Linked DNA regions of Homo sapiens: region 2 is linked to region 1. The links are contacts of gene promoters, found by promoter capture Hi-C in human tissues and cell types (Jung and others, 2019). All regions are on one chromosome and are shown on one strand. Each heading gives the region's core, a stretch centred on a gene start or on the middle of the fragment in contact. The rest is flanking DNA. Distances are from core to core; before and after follow the strand shown. Region 1 holds the start of THSD1 (thrombospondin type 1 domain containing 1). Region 2 holds the start of HNRNPA1L2 (heterogeneous nuclear ribonucleoprotein A1 like 2).

Region 1 (7,104 bases), core at 1,373-3,872:
TCTCATATATTCCCAAAAACTTAAAACTCTTTTTTAAATTTTAGTTTTAGATTTGGGGGTGCATATGCAGGTTTGTTACAAGGGTAATTGCATGTTGCTGAGGTTTGGGCTTCTATTGATCCTGTCACCTAGATAATGAACATAGTACTGAGAGGTGACAGCGTGCTGGCAGCCCTCACAGCCCTCGCTGGCTCTCAGCACCTCCTCTGCCTGGGCTCCCACTTTGGCGGCACTTAAGGAGCTCTTCAGCCCGCTGCTGCACTGTGGGAGCCCCTTCCTGGGCTGGGCTGGCTGAGGCTGGAGCTGGCTCCCTCAGCTTGCGGGGAGGTGTGGAGGGAGAGGCGCTGGCGGGAACCGGGGCTGCGCACGGTGCTTGCGGGCCAGCACGAGTTCCGGGTGGGTGTGGGCTCGGCGGGCCCGCACTCGGAGCGGCCGGTGGGCCCTGCCGGCCCCGGGCAATGAGGGGCTTAGCACCTGGGCCAGCAGCTGCAGAAGGTGTGCTGGGTCCCCCAGCAGTGCCGGCCCACCGGCGCTGCGCTCAATTTCTCGCAGGGCCTTAGCTGCCTCCCTGAGCAGGGCAGGGCTCGGGACCTGCAGCCCGCCATGCCTGAGCCTCCCCCACCTTCCATGGGCTCCTGTGAGGCCCGAGCTCCCTGACGAGCACCACCCCCTGCTCCACAGCGCCCAGTCCCATCGACCACCCAAGGGCTGAGGAGTGCGGGCACAGGGCGCGGGACTGGCAGGCAGCTCCACTTGCAGCCCCGGTGCGGGATCCACTGGGTGAAGCCAGCTAGGCTCCTCACTGGTGGGCACTTGGAGAACCTTTATGGCTAGCTAAGGGATTGTAAATACACCAGTCGGCACTCTATCTGGCTCAAGGTTTGTAAACACACCAATCAGCACCCTGTGTCTAGCTCAGGGTTTGTGAATGCACCAATGGACACTGTATCTAGCTACTCTTGTGGGGACTTGGAGAACCTTTGTGTGGACACTCTGTATCTAGCTAATGTAGTGGGGACGTGGAGAACCTTTGTGTCTAGCTCAGGGATTGTAAATGCACCAATCAGCGCCCTGTCAAAACAGACCACTCCGCTCTCTGTAAAATGAACCAATCAGCAGGATGTGGGTGGGGCCAGATAAGAGAATAAAAGCAGGCTGCACGCGCCGGCAGTGGCAACCCGCTGGGGTTCCCTTGCAAAGCGTGGGAGCTTTGTTCCTTGGCTCTTTGCAATAAATCTTGCTGCTGCTCACTCTTTGGGTCCACACTGCCTTTATGAGCTGTAACACTCACTGCGAAGGTCTGCAGCTTCACTTCTGAAGCCAGCGAGACTACGGACACACTGGGAGGAACGAACAACTCCAGACGCGCCGCCTTAAAAGCTGTAACACTCATGGCGAAGGTCCGCAGCTTCACTCCTGAACCAGCGAGACCACGAACCCACCAGAAGGAAGAAACTCTGAACACATCCGAACATCAGAAGGAACAAACTCCGGACAGGCCGCCTTTAAGAACTGTAACACTCACCGCGAGGGTCCGCAGCTTTATTCTTGAAGTCAGAAAGACCAAGAACCCACCAATTCCGGACACAGTACCCAATAGGATGTTTTTCAGCCCTTGCCCCTTTCTCTCCCTCCCTTGACTTGGAGTCTCCAGTGTTTGTTGTTGCCATCTTTATGTCCATGAGTACCCGTTGTTTAAGCTCCCACTTATAAGTGAGAACATTCGGTGTTTGGTTTTCTGTTCCTATGTTAATTCACTTAGGATAATGTCCTCCAACTGCATCCATGTTGCTACAGAGGACGTGATTTTGTTCTTTTTTTATGGCTGTTTAGTATTTCGTGGTGTGTATGTACCACATTTTCTTTACCCAGTCTACTGTTGATGGGCACCTAGGTTGATTCCATGTCTTTGCTATTGTAAATAGTACTGTGATAAACATAGTGCGGGTGTCTTTTTGGCAGAATGATTTATTTTCCTTTGGGCATACACCCAGTAATGGGATTGCTGGGTCGAATGATCTTTCTGTTTTTAGTTGAGAAATCTCCAAACTGCTTTCCACAGTGGCTGAACTAATTCACATTCCTATAAAAAGAACTTTAACACTTGCAGAGTAGAGTTTTTAAAATGTTTAGTTATTTTTAATACCAATTCTGACCCCAGGGAAAGAAAATGGAGATGCACTTTACCTGAACTATGTTCTTTTGAAACTCTTCAGTGACATTTGGGAAAGCAAGTTTACAGCCCACATGCTGTGCCGCTTCAAGGACTTATTTTTGTGGTCTCCCTGAAGAAAATGACACTAGAGTAGAAGTGATTGAATGTGAAGTGTCAGGAGATTGCTCGCTCGTCCTTCGTTAAACCCCTGGTCCGGCTGTGTGCTGTGGATGCGGGTGTGTGTTGAGGGGACCTGCGTCTGCCGGGGCCGCACCCCCTCCCGCAGGACCTTGGCTGGCCGCGCGTTTCCTGCCTGTTTCCTGTCCAGCAGCTGGCGAGCTGGGGACCGGCAGGAAAGGATGCGCTGCCCAGAAGGGGCGGGAACCGACCACGCCCGGTCCCGTGTGCCCCCCGCCCTCCCGGCGCCCGCCCTCCCCACGCCGTCGGGGGCGGGCCCCGCGGGGCTGTGGGAGCCGAACGCCGCGGGGTCAGGGCGTGCAGTCTGGGACGCGGGATGCTTGGCGCTCTACCTCGCCGCCCCTGAGCCTTCCCGTCCGCCTCGCCACGCGCCCGGACGGCCTGGGGTTGCTGCCCGTCAGTCTCGAAAGGTAAGAAGCGCCCTCCGCATCCTGGTGTTCGCGCCCGTGCCGCGAGACTCTTGGAGGCTCCTCTGGGGTCGGGAAATGCCTCCGGACTCTGCCACCTCACCGCAGCCTGAAGGCGCAGGTGGACGGTGGCGGCCCCTCCCCACACCCGCCTCGGCCCCAGGGGACGCTTTTAAGGGGTATTGGTCTCCACACTTCGGAGTCCCGAATTTAAGTGAACCTGGCTCTGCCTTGGCTCAGATGTTGCCGAGTGACTGAGACTGGCCACAGAACCTTGAAAAATCGCGTCTTGAGCTACTGTTTCTTTCCAAAAAGAAATCCTTTCTGATATACAAAAAGTATGAAATACAAGGATTAAATTAAATTAAAGACGGTCCTCATTAAGGAGGGCTTTAAGCTGACGACGCGAGGGGTAGACTTCCAGGCGTGAACTGGGCTTGCGGGCATTTGGGAAGCTGAGTAGATGGGGCGAGCCAGGGCGTCCCAGGAACGCTGCACCCAACCTGTGGGACCAGGGCAGAGCAAACTCGAATGAACAGATAAATGAAGCCTGTTTACACGAGCTGCTTTAGAACTAGAGATTTCCTCCCAATAAATACTATTGGTATATATACACACAAGCATGTGCATGTTGGTCAGAAGGGACAAAATAACTGCTTCGTTTTCCATTTTATTCTTTCACGAATCATTGGTCCCATGGACATTAGTGTAATTCATTTACTTTTTCTGCAGCTATGAAGGGAGATTTAGAAGCGTTTGTCCTAGCTGGTTTCAGCAAAAACATGGGGTCTCAGGTTGGGTGATGCTGTTAGCCATTGAGAATATTCACAACTTTTCCCCACCTTCTCAGCTGATGCATTTAGAATTTGTCTCTAAAGTTTACATACAAGAATGCTAGGTAGAAGTATTTTCAAATGTGTATAAAATATATCTAAGTTCTTAATTTCTTAGAACAATTCTCAATGCAAACATTGTAAGAAGTCAGTCGAGGTATTGAGAACAACATGTTGAAAGAAAATAAGCAAGGTAGAAAGAAATTAAAGAGACATATTATGACTAATGTTATGATCATATTCCATATTATGATTGACAAGTAGGCTGGTCTGTTTTATAAGTCTTTTTCCATTCAGCTCTAAATATAGATTGTCTCACCATTCTATGTTTTACCGATCATTTTCATAAGAAAGAAAATGTGTTATAATCACTAAATCAGTAATGATTTGGGGCTTCAAAAATAAAAATGTTATTGTCGTGGAAGCAAACAAATCTGAGAGAAGCCAGTTCAACTTTTGGGAGCTTGCTTCTTCTTAGTTTGGTTACCAGGTCTCAGTGACTTAAAAGAAGCATTGTAATTGTCTTAAGTGCTCACACTTGCCCAAGTGATGTGATGTGTTCTGCAAGGATCTTACTGGCTGACTTTGCCCAGGTTTCCCAGTCCATGTTCGAGGAAAGAATTGGGTCAAGTCTGTGGCTAATTCCACCCAAAACAATTTTCTTCTTCTTTCCTTTCTTTTCTTTTTTTTGGGTGGGGGTGGCGGGGAAGAGGAAGGAGCCCTAATCTGCATAGTTACACTTCAAATCTCTGTTTCCCTTTCAGGAAGTACAGTATTTCCTTTGTTCAGCAGCTCTTGCTGAAAGAAAGCTAATAAGACACACCAGTTTCCCTTCCATTGAATTCTGGCTTATTTCAATCAGTCTTCTTAATTCCACTAATTTGTGCTCTTATCTGAAAAGATGTAACATGTATTTGGAATATAATATACTTGCTTATTAAAATGATTAACTGTGGGCTGGGTGTGGTGGCTCACGCCTGTAATCCCAGCACTTTGGGAGGCCATGGTGGGCAGATCACGAGGCCAGACATCTGAGACCAGCCTGGCCAAAGTGGTGAAACACCGTTTCTACTAAAAATACAAAAATTAGCCAAGCGTGGTGGTGCACACCTATAATCCCCGCTACTCAGAAGCCTGAGGTGGGACAATCACTTGAACCTGGGAGGTGGAGGTTGCAGTGAGCCAAGATCATGCCACTGCACTCCAGGCTAGGTGACAGAGCAAGACTCTGTCTAAAAAAAAAAAAAAAAAAAAAAAAAAAATGTGAATAATGGGGGGGACCTTAAACATTAAGAAAGTACATATTTGGTTATATTTAATATTAATACATAGTTTGCTAGACTCTAGTATGAAAGAACTGTCTTAAATGCCCAGTATCTTATTCTATAGTTGAATAGTCTATATAAAAATAAGTGCCTTTTCCAGCCGGGTGCGGTGGCTTACGCCTGTAATCCCAGCACTTTGGGAGGCTGAGATGGGCAGATCACGAGGTCAGGAGATCGAGATCCTGCCTAACACAATGAAACCCCGTTTCTACTAAAAATACCAAAAATTAGCTGGGCATGGTGGTGGGCGCCTGTAGTCCCAGCTACTCGGGAGGCTGAGGCAGGAGAATGGCGTGAACCCGGGAAGCGGAGCTTGCAGTGAGCCGAGATCTCGCCACTGTACTCCAGCCTAGGCGACAGAGTGAGACTCCATCTCTAAATAAATAAATAAAATAAAATAAGTGCTTCTTCCAACAAATAACTGAACCACAGGCCAGCAAGGTCTTCCCTGCCCTCTTAGGTAGACTGGGAAGATTGCTGTGTGAACCACCGATCTCGTGATGCATACCAGCAGCAACAAGTATTGCAGGACTGATGAAGATGATTGTTATTTGTCTGTTTTCTCCTTAGGCTGCCCTAAACAAGGGAAGTCAGGGCCACATGGAGTTCATATTTAATTGTAGTATTCTGGGGTATCTTTTTTTTAAAAAAGCTTTGATCACTTGGATGTAGCTCCTAGGAATTGATAAATGAAGCAATCCTGGTAACACACCAATTGTGCAAGGAAATGTTAGCCCATTTGTGGACGCCAGGCAGGGAGCATTTGGGTATACACAGCACAATGCTAAATTAAAGTTTAGCAGAAATTTAGTAAATTGATCAGTGTGAAATGCCAAGCAGATAAATAATGTGAAAATGTATCCAAATTGGCTATTAACTTTGATAAAATTAAGCAAATAACAATAAACTCTCCACGTCAGGATGTGCTGTAAAGAGAAGAGACTTTGGTGTTGTGCAAAGATAATTTTAGTGGGTGTTGGGCATACCTGCATATTCTTGACCTGTGAGTTATAATGGAATGAAAAAGGCTTGTATAATTATAAGTCATTGCCCCAGGGAAAATTAGTGTCCTCTCTAGTTTCCTTTCAATATCACTTAGAAAGTTTGAGTTTTAGAATGGTTTTGTCATTTAATGATTACTATTTTATCAATCACATTGAACGGAGCCATCATTTTTTGAGGTTCTAATTTCAGGTGTTTTTGGGGAAAAAAATCACAATCTGGACGTGAGAAAGGACATGAGGAGACTAAAGACCTGGGATTTTGTCAATCAGAATGAAACCAATGTTGAAAGACTTTTCAAATCTATTGTTGGTGGTACTCTGTGACTATGGTGAGTATTGTGAGTATACTTAACGCTACTGGTAGCAATAAGACATAAAGATGACATTATAAATGCATTGATGTTGATGACTCTTCCTGAAGGAGGCAGGGTAGGGTATATAGTGCAGTGCTTTCTCAACTGTGACCCTTGCAACCCTGGGTTCTCTTATGCTTCAGTGATTCTGCATGATTGATTCGTATTTCATTTTATATTTTTAACTCTTAAAAAAATAAAAAAACCAACTCTCTCAAATTTTAACAAATTGGAGGCAAGCATGTTACCTTGAGTTCTCTTTGATTTCCCAGTAATTAAGTGTGATAAATCACTTCATACACACATGCAATGATGTTGTGTATATTAGGGTTCTACATAAGATTTCACTTGACCGAGTTTTGGTGCTAACATACATTTGGACCCAATCTGAATTTCAATCCTTGAAAGTTGCGTGCTCTTAGAAAAGTTTCTTAATCTCTTTCAATCTCAGCAATAATATTGACTTTACAGGGTTGTTATGATAATATCAAGAGTGCAAAACACCCTGAATGAGCAAATAGTAGGTGCTTAAAGTCTGTTCTCGTCATTCGTTTCACCTAAAAATTGAGTTCATTTCTCAGAGAGCTTTATACAACTACTGAACAATAGAGTCAACAATATGATATAATCTTCACTACTTTTGATGATTTCCAAATATTTCATAGACATCTAAGCAGTTGATTGCATGGCAGTGGAAGTTGTTTTTGAATTTGGTAAAGAAATTGTGATCCAAGATATAGAGGACACTGGCTTGTGTAATGTGAATGGCATAGCTGGTTAAATGGACCAGAGCCTGTGCTGTTCATTTCATTCAGTAGACCTCCTTTCT
Region 2 (7,104 bases), core at 1,461-3,960, 240 kb before region 1:
TGCTGGGATTACAGACGTGAGCCACCGCGCCCGGCCTAAAGCTATTTTTTTAAAACACATTTAGAGCTATAGATAAGAATTGATAGTCATCAGCATATGGATGGTGGTAAGCAACATAAGAACATGAGCACAAGGAGGCCAGGCGCAGTAGCTCACACTTGTAATCCCATCACTTTGGGATGCCAAAGCAGGAGCATCCCTTGAGCCCAGGAGCTCGAGACCAGCCTGGGCAATATGGTAAAACACTTTCTCTACAAAATACATTAGCCAGATGTGGTGGTGCATGCCTGTAGTCCACTGAGTGTACTGAGGCTGAGGTGGGAGGATTGCTTGAGCCCAGGTCGAGGTTCAGTGAGCTGTTATCATGCCACTGCACTCCAACCTGGGCAACAGAGCGAGACCCTGTCTCAAAAAAGAAAGAAAAAAAAGGCAAGGAGAATATGTAGTTTTCTCACTTAATAAATATTGAATCCCTCCTATGTATAGATATGCGAGGGACTGGGGATACTAAAATGACTGCAATCTTGGTGCTTAATAATCTAGTGTTGGAATCACGCATATCAACAGGCAGTTATTATAGTGTCATATATGTCTAAATGGGAGAGATTAAAGGGGTTCTGTGAAAGCAGTCAGAAGATTTTGAAAGCTCAGAGTAAGTAATGTCTCAGCCAAAGCCTGAAGAACATATAGGAGGTAACCAGCATGAGATAACCTGTGCTGAGCAGAGTGGGCTTGAAATCAGATCTAGCGGAGTGATTTGGAAAGTACAGCTTCAGGGGTGTTTATTTGCAAAAGCCCCTTCAAACCCTATCTAATTTGTTAATATAATTTTGTACGTATTTTTCCTAAATAAATCCCCTCCCCACTCCCACAACCCCAACAAATTGTGTAAATTTTGGCCCCACAAAACCTGGATTTGTCCTTAAGTAGGTCTTTCTTTTGGGTTACTTAGAATTCAGCTCCTTCTTATGTCTGGGGAATTCCTTGAGTCTTCCCACTGAGCCAGTCTCCCTCTATAAAAGCTGAAAATGCCAAACAACTTAAGCTGAACTTGCACATACTTTAAAATTGGTAACTGGTTAGCAACAACAAATCAAGGAAGGACCTTAGTGTATCCTCTCCAGATGCAGTAGCACATGTGTCAAGATCAAATTCCCAAAGCAGCAGATAGTGTTACAAAGCAGTGTGTCAGTGCTTGGCAACAGTGGCTACAATCTCCTCACCCGACCAGTTATGCAGTATGGTTCCAGGATTTATTCCCAGCCGTGTGGCTCAGACTGATGCTGATTCTCTAGTCCTTTTGGCCATTCTGCAAGCAGCACAATATTCTTCTAATACAATTTATCTTATGCTGAAAACCAGAATCCATCTCTGTTGCTTACGACTAAGAATCCAAACTGATAGACAATTTGGTATTTGGAAGTGGAGTGCTACAAAACAGACCTAGAATGGTGTGTAATTGGCCGGGTGGAAAAGGCAGGATGGAGGGCATTGAGACACAACTGTTTCGGGCTGGGAAACTAGTGACTCTGAGACAGGACACCAAGCTCACACCATCAAGAAATGTACTCTAAAGCTGAGCAGCCTTAGAAAGAGTCTTCTTCCCAGTGCTCATATTAGATGTGGCTGTTGAGGACAAAACACCAGAGAGCCACAGCCACCAGATGAAAAAGCAGCCTACGGATTCCACCAAAGATCTTTTTTTTTTTTAGAGACATTTATTCAGCGTCACAATCAGACTATTACATTTAGCAATCAACAGCATGGGTGCAAAAAAAAAAATCTACATTAAAACACTTTGTTGGAATGCTTTACACTTTCCACAGAACAGAAACTAAAATAACCTGTTATACAATTAGTCACAAATACAGTCCTCGAGTTTTTTGCCCATACACATGAGTATTTGTCTAAAACATGTCTTCTTTGTAGCAGCTAGGCCCTGCCACCACTGTGCTTGGCTGAGTTCACAAATCTGTTGTAACCTGTAGCTTCCCTGTCACTTCTCTGGCTCTCCTCTCCTGCTAAGCTTTGTTTCCTAATTAAAATCTTCTGCCACTGCCATAGCTACTGCTGCTGCTGGAAACGCCATAGCCACCTTGGTTTTGTGGTTTTGCAAAGTATTGGCCTCCACCGCCATAGGGGCCAGAGCTTCTGCCTCCAAAATTTCCTCCCTTCATGGGTCCAAAATTTGAAGACTGATTGTTGTAATTGCCAAAATCATTGTAGCTTCCACCACCTCCAAAATTGCTTCCATCATTACCAAATCCATTATAGCCATCCCCACTGCCACCATATCCACCACCACCACAGCTGCCACCAAAGCCACCACGACCACTGAAGTTTCCTCCACGACCAAAGTTGTCATTCCCACCGAAACCATCTCCACGACCACCACCAAAGTTTCCAGAACCCCTTCGACCTCTTTGGCTGGATGAAGCACTAGCCATCTCTTGCTTTGGCAGGGCTTTTCTAACTTCACAGTTGTGGCCCTTCACAGTATGGTATTTCTGAATGACAATCTTATCCACGGAGTCATGGTCGTCAAAGGTTACAAAGGCAAAGCCCCTTTTCTTGCCACTGCCTCGGTCAGTCATGATTTCAATTACTTCAATTTTTCCATACTGTTCAAAATAATCTCTTAGGTGATGTTCTTCAGTGTCTTCTTTAATGCCACCAACAAATATCTTTTTCACAGTTAAGTGGGCACCTGGTCTTTGAGAATCTTCTCTGGAGACAGCTCTCTTTGGTTCCACAACTCTTCCATCCACCTTGTGTGGCGTTGTATTCATAGCTGCATCCACCTCCTCCACAGTGGCATATGTGACAAACCCAAAGCCCCTGGAGCGCTTGGTGTTTGGATCTCTCATTACCACACAGTCTGTGAGCGTTCCCCATTGCTCAAAATGGCTCCTCAGGCTCTCATCAGTTGTTTCAAAGCTCAACCCTCCAATGAAGAGCTTCCTCAGCTGTTCGGGCTCTTTTGGAGACGCTGACTTAGACATGACGGCAAGGTGAAGAGAGACTTTAACGATGCTTCTTCAGCGGCGTCCACGGGCAGAAAAAGTCCACCAGAGATCTTAGATATGAAGCTGGATAGAGTATTTGGATGAGATTCTGGCTGATTCTCTTTGGGAAATAAATACATTTTTCATATGGGCCTGAACATTTTTTAGTGTATGTACAGGAAGAAAGACAAGTATACATAACAGTAGGATACTTCATTCCTCCCTTCTTCCTTGCTGTGAAGCCCTAATTTTGTTTCTCCAGCACATGACTAAGTCATTTGTGGTAATCCCACATCCCACATTGTTGGGATCACCAACCCCACATTGTTGGCCATATTGGCAAACAATATGGTTTAAGAAGGGGTATATAACTAATCTAGCCAATTGGGCCATGCATGAGGTGTCTGCTCAGGGATTCTGGGAAAGGTCTCCTTATTGATAAACAGAAACACAGAATAAATTACTGCAGCTACCTTTAGCAATAGCCATCCTGGAAGACCAAACCAATATCCCAAGGAAAGTGAAAGCATAAGGATGGAGAAACCTAGTTCATCAGTGATACCAGTGAGCTCCTGAGTTAACCAACCCAGAAGCCTCCAAACTCCTGACTTTTTGTTTTGTATTATTTAATAATTTTGAGTTGGGTTTTTCTGTTTGCTTCTTGCAATTGAAAACATTCTTATTCTAATTGCTATTATGTCTGGGAGTGCAGAATTTGATCATAAGGCTGGTGAGATAAAGAAGAGGTGAGACCACATAGGGCCTCAACTCCATCTGAAAAGATTTAAAAAACCACTGAAGGCTTGACATAATTAGACTGACACTCCTATTGCACTGGGGAGAACAGATTGGAAGCGGACAAGTTGAAAACAGAGAATAAGAACAGTGACCTTTAGACAAAACTTGGGAGAACTCCAATCTTTGAAAAAGTCTCTGGAGCAACCCAAAGGGAACATCAGGAAATTATTTTTTACATGGTAAAAGGGGGAAAATATTACAGAAGCAGGATAGGACAGTTGGGCACTTCAGATTGGGCAAAACTGAAGGCAATAGAGAGTTTAGAGGAAAAGTGAGTTATGAAAGGTTATCAATTGATCAAGAGGTCCAGGAAGAGAAGGAAGGATGGGATTCAGCAATATGGAAATTGGTTACTCTTAGTGACCTTTGTAACAACAAATTCAGGGTAATAAGTCAAATGCAATACTACAGAGGGTTAAAGAATAAATGGAAAGTGAGGAAGGCAGCAAGTTTACAGGTTAAGGACAATGACAACAGCATCACAGGTCCTTCTTTAATAAACAATCTTGAGTCAATGATTTGGTGTGGAGAGGCCAAGTACTGACAGCCATGTCTTATTCAGGAGTTGATGACTAGATTATGTTAGGGCTACAGAGAGTCAAGATGTAATATCGGGACAGATCATGCTGGTCCTTGTAAACCCTGTTCAGAAGTTTGCATATTCCTTGTAAGAAATGATGGTAACTTAAACTAAGGTAGAAACATGAAGACAAATGACAAATTAAAAGCTTTTGAGGAGGTAAATTACCTGGGCTGCATGATTGATTGGACGTGGATATCAGATGTGACTGAGCCATGGAAGTAAATGAGATTGTCAAAGAAGCATGTGCAGTGGGAAGAGAGCCAAGAAAGGAATCTTAAGAAATACCAGGACATAAGGCAGAGCTCCCCAACTAAGGTACTATGAATGGTTATGGGTGTGCCCAAAATACTGATCCCTTTAGTCTAAATGGACGGTGAGAGCCACTGGCTGGTCACCCGCAGCAGTAAGCAACTTCACTGGTTAACCCCAGTGTGTCTCTGGAGGGCAGACATTATATTCTGTCAACTTTGTACTAAGAGTTCCATGACTATGTGAAGACATCCTTGATACCTTACCCAATACATGTTGGTTGAATGAATAAATGTAGAGCAACATTGAGGGACAAACTTAAAATGACAGGTTGGGGCCAGATCAGTTATTCTTAAACTTCCAAGTGTACATTAAGATTACCTAGTACTTTTCTAACTTGAATGTCTATATTATTCTGATTCATTAGGTCTGGAGCAGGGCCTGGAGTTCTATTTTTCTAAAATGTTTCCAGTGATGTAGATGCTAATTTGGGACCACTCTGAGTAGCAAGAAATAAACAATACTAGTTAAAAATACAAACTGTACAGCTTTCCCATGAGATACAAATTCAGTAGGTATGGGGTGTAACCAAAGAATTTGCATTTTAAGAAAAACATCAGCTGGGTGCAATGGCTCACGCCTGTAATCCCACCACTTTGGGAGGCCAAGGAGGGGTGAATCCCTTGAGCCCAGGAGTTGGAGACCAGACAGGAAAACATGGTGAAAACCCCTTTCTACAAAAATACACACATCTATTAGCCAGGCATGGTGCAGGCCTGTGGTCCCAGCAACTCAGGAGGCTGAAGTGAGAGGATTGCTTGAACCCTGGGAGGTGACAGTTGCAGTGAGCCAAGTGAGAGGACTGCTTGAACCCTGGGAGGTGACAGTTGCAGTGAGCCAAGATTGTGCCATTGCACTCTAGACTGGGTAACAGAGCGAGACACTATCTCAAAAAAAAAAAAACAAAAAAAAAAAAAAAAAAACAAGAACAACATTAACTCTGAAATAGTTGGCCTAGGAACCCAGTTTGATGGAGAAATTTGAATGTTAAGCTAAGGATTTTGGACTTTATCCTACAGGTAGCAAGAAAGGCATGAGGGTTTCCATATACAAACATTATGTATTCCCAAGGGATAGTTTTGATTTTTTTTTTTTTTTTTTTTTTGAGACAGGGTCAACAAAAACAGAAGAGAACACACAAAACGAGAGAAAAATACAGGAAGGCCACTGTAGAACTGTTAAAAATTCAGGAGCTGGCAAGCAAAGACACACTCAGAGCACTTCTCTTTGCTTCCTTGCCCTCTGAACTGTTCAATAAATAGCGAAGAACACAAAGCTAACTGCAGTATTTGTTTCAGACCTGCTTCTGCTCTCCAATTTAAAAGCAATACAGGAACATTAAATTTGTCGCAGCTGAAATTGGTAAAGGCAGACCTCTACAGGTGCTTCTTGACTTACAATGGGTTTATTGGGAGGGGAAGATATCGTAAGTAAAAACGTCTTTAATACACCTAACCTACTGAGCATCAGAGCTTAGACTAGCCTACCTTAAACGTACTCAGAACACTTACATTAACCTACATTTGGGCAAAATCATCTAACACAAATTCTTTTTTATTATAAAGGGTTGAATAGCTCATGAATTTATGGGAACAATGTCCTAAACATGAAAAACAGGATAGCTTTATGGGGACTCAAAGTTCACTTTCTACTGAATGTGCATCGCCTTTGCAACTATCATAAAGTCAAAAAATTCTAAGTCAAACCATCCTAAGCCCCAGACCGTCTGCATGTGAAGTGCTCCCTAAGGGGCACTATGCCAGATACCATGCCTAAGTGTTTTCCAACTTTCTGTACCACATTCAAAAGGAGCATCTTCATAAAGATGTTACTGATCTCGTGGAAAATATTAGTCCTTCCTTTCCTTTGCAGCTGACAGGATTTTTAAAAGAAGCTCTAAACCACAAGCATATTCCAGCAGCTATTTGTTCTTCCTAGTATGAGTTACTTCCTCCCTCTGCCACCGTCACTTGTATTCTAGTTTGAGGAAATATTAAGCAGCACAGTAAATAAGTCTGTTTTCAGAAATTGCTTAGTCCTGGAATTAATATATTTTATAAAGCAGGTTAGCTTTAGCTCCTTAAGATTTGGTTACTTAGAATGAAATCTTCCCAATTTAATAGGCAATTTGCATACATGTATAAATGCATGAACTTTAAAAGCACCTTTAGGATTAAGAGGGTTTTGTTATCTGTATTTATAGAATTTAAAGCTGATTACCTCAGCAAGTTTTAGAGAAATTTTAAGAATAGTGGTAAGACAAGAATCTTAAGATAATACATTCTTTAGAACCAAGAATCTAAGGATAATACATTCTTTAGAACCAAATGTGTAAATGGTTAAATGAAGGATGTTTTAACAACATGGTCTCAACTGTGGAGGTATCATCTTTCAAAGCTACCTGCAAAA

What was found. Contacts are between HindIII fragments. The study calls those that stand out against the background at their distance.
Region 2: a fragment that was not itself captured here is called in contact with the fragment with the promoter of THSD1 in region 1 in 1 of the 25 tissues and cell types used here (spleen).

The regions. Positions count from the first base shown.
Region 1 is chr13:52,401,690-52,408,793 of GRCh38, reverse strand. THSD1 (thrombospondin type 1 domain containing 1) reads left to right here and starts at 2,622. Exons shown (of 5, transcript NM_018676.4): 1 at 2,622-2,763; 2 at 6,113-6,251. The coding sequence starts at 6,194. RefSeq lists a silencer at 2,533-2,692. The HindIII fragment of the contact is 14,115 bases long and covers 1-7,104 here.
Region 2 is chr13:52,638,391-52,645,494 of GRCh38, reverse strand. HNRNPA1L2 (heterogeneous nuclear ribonucleoprotein A1 like 2) reads right to left here and starts at 3,064. Exons shown (of 1, transcript NM_001389320.1): 1 at 1,722-3,064. The coding sequence starts at 3,002. The coding sequence ends at 2,040. The HindIII fragment of the contact is 6,422 bases long and covers 1-5,921 here.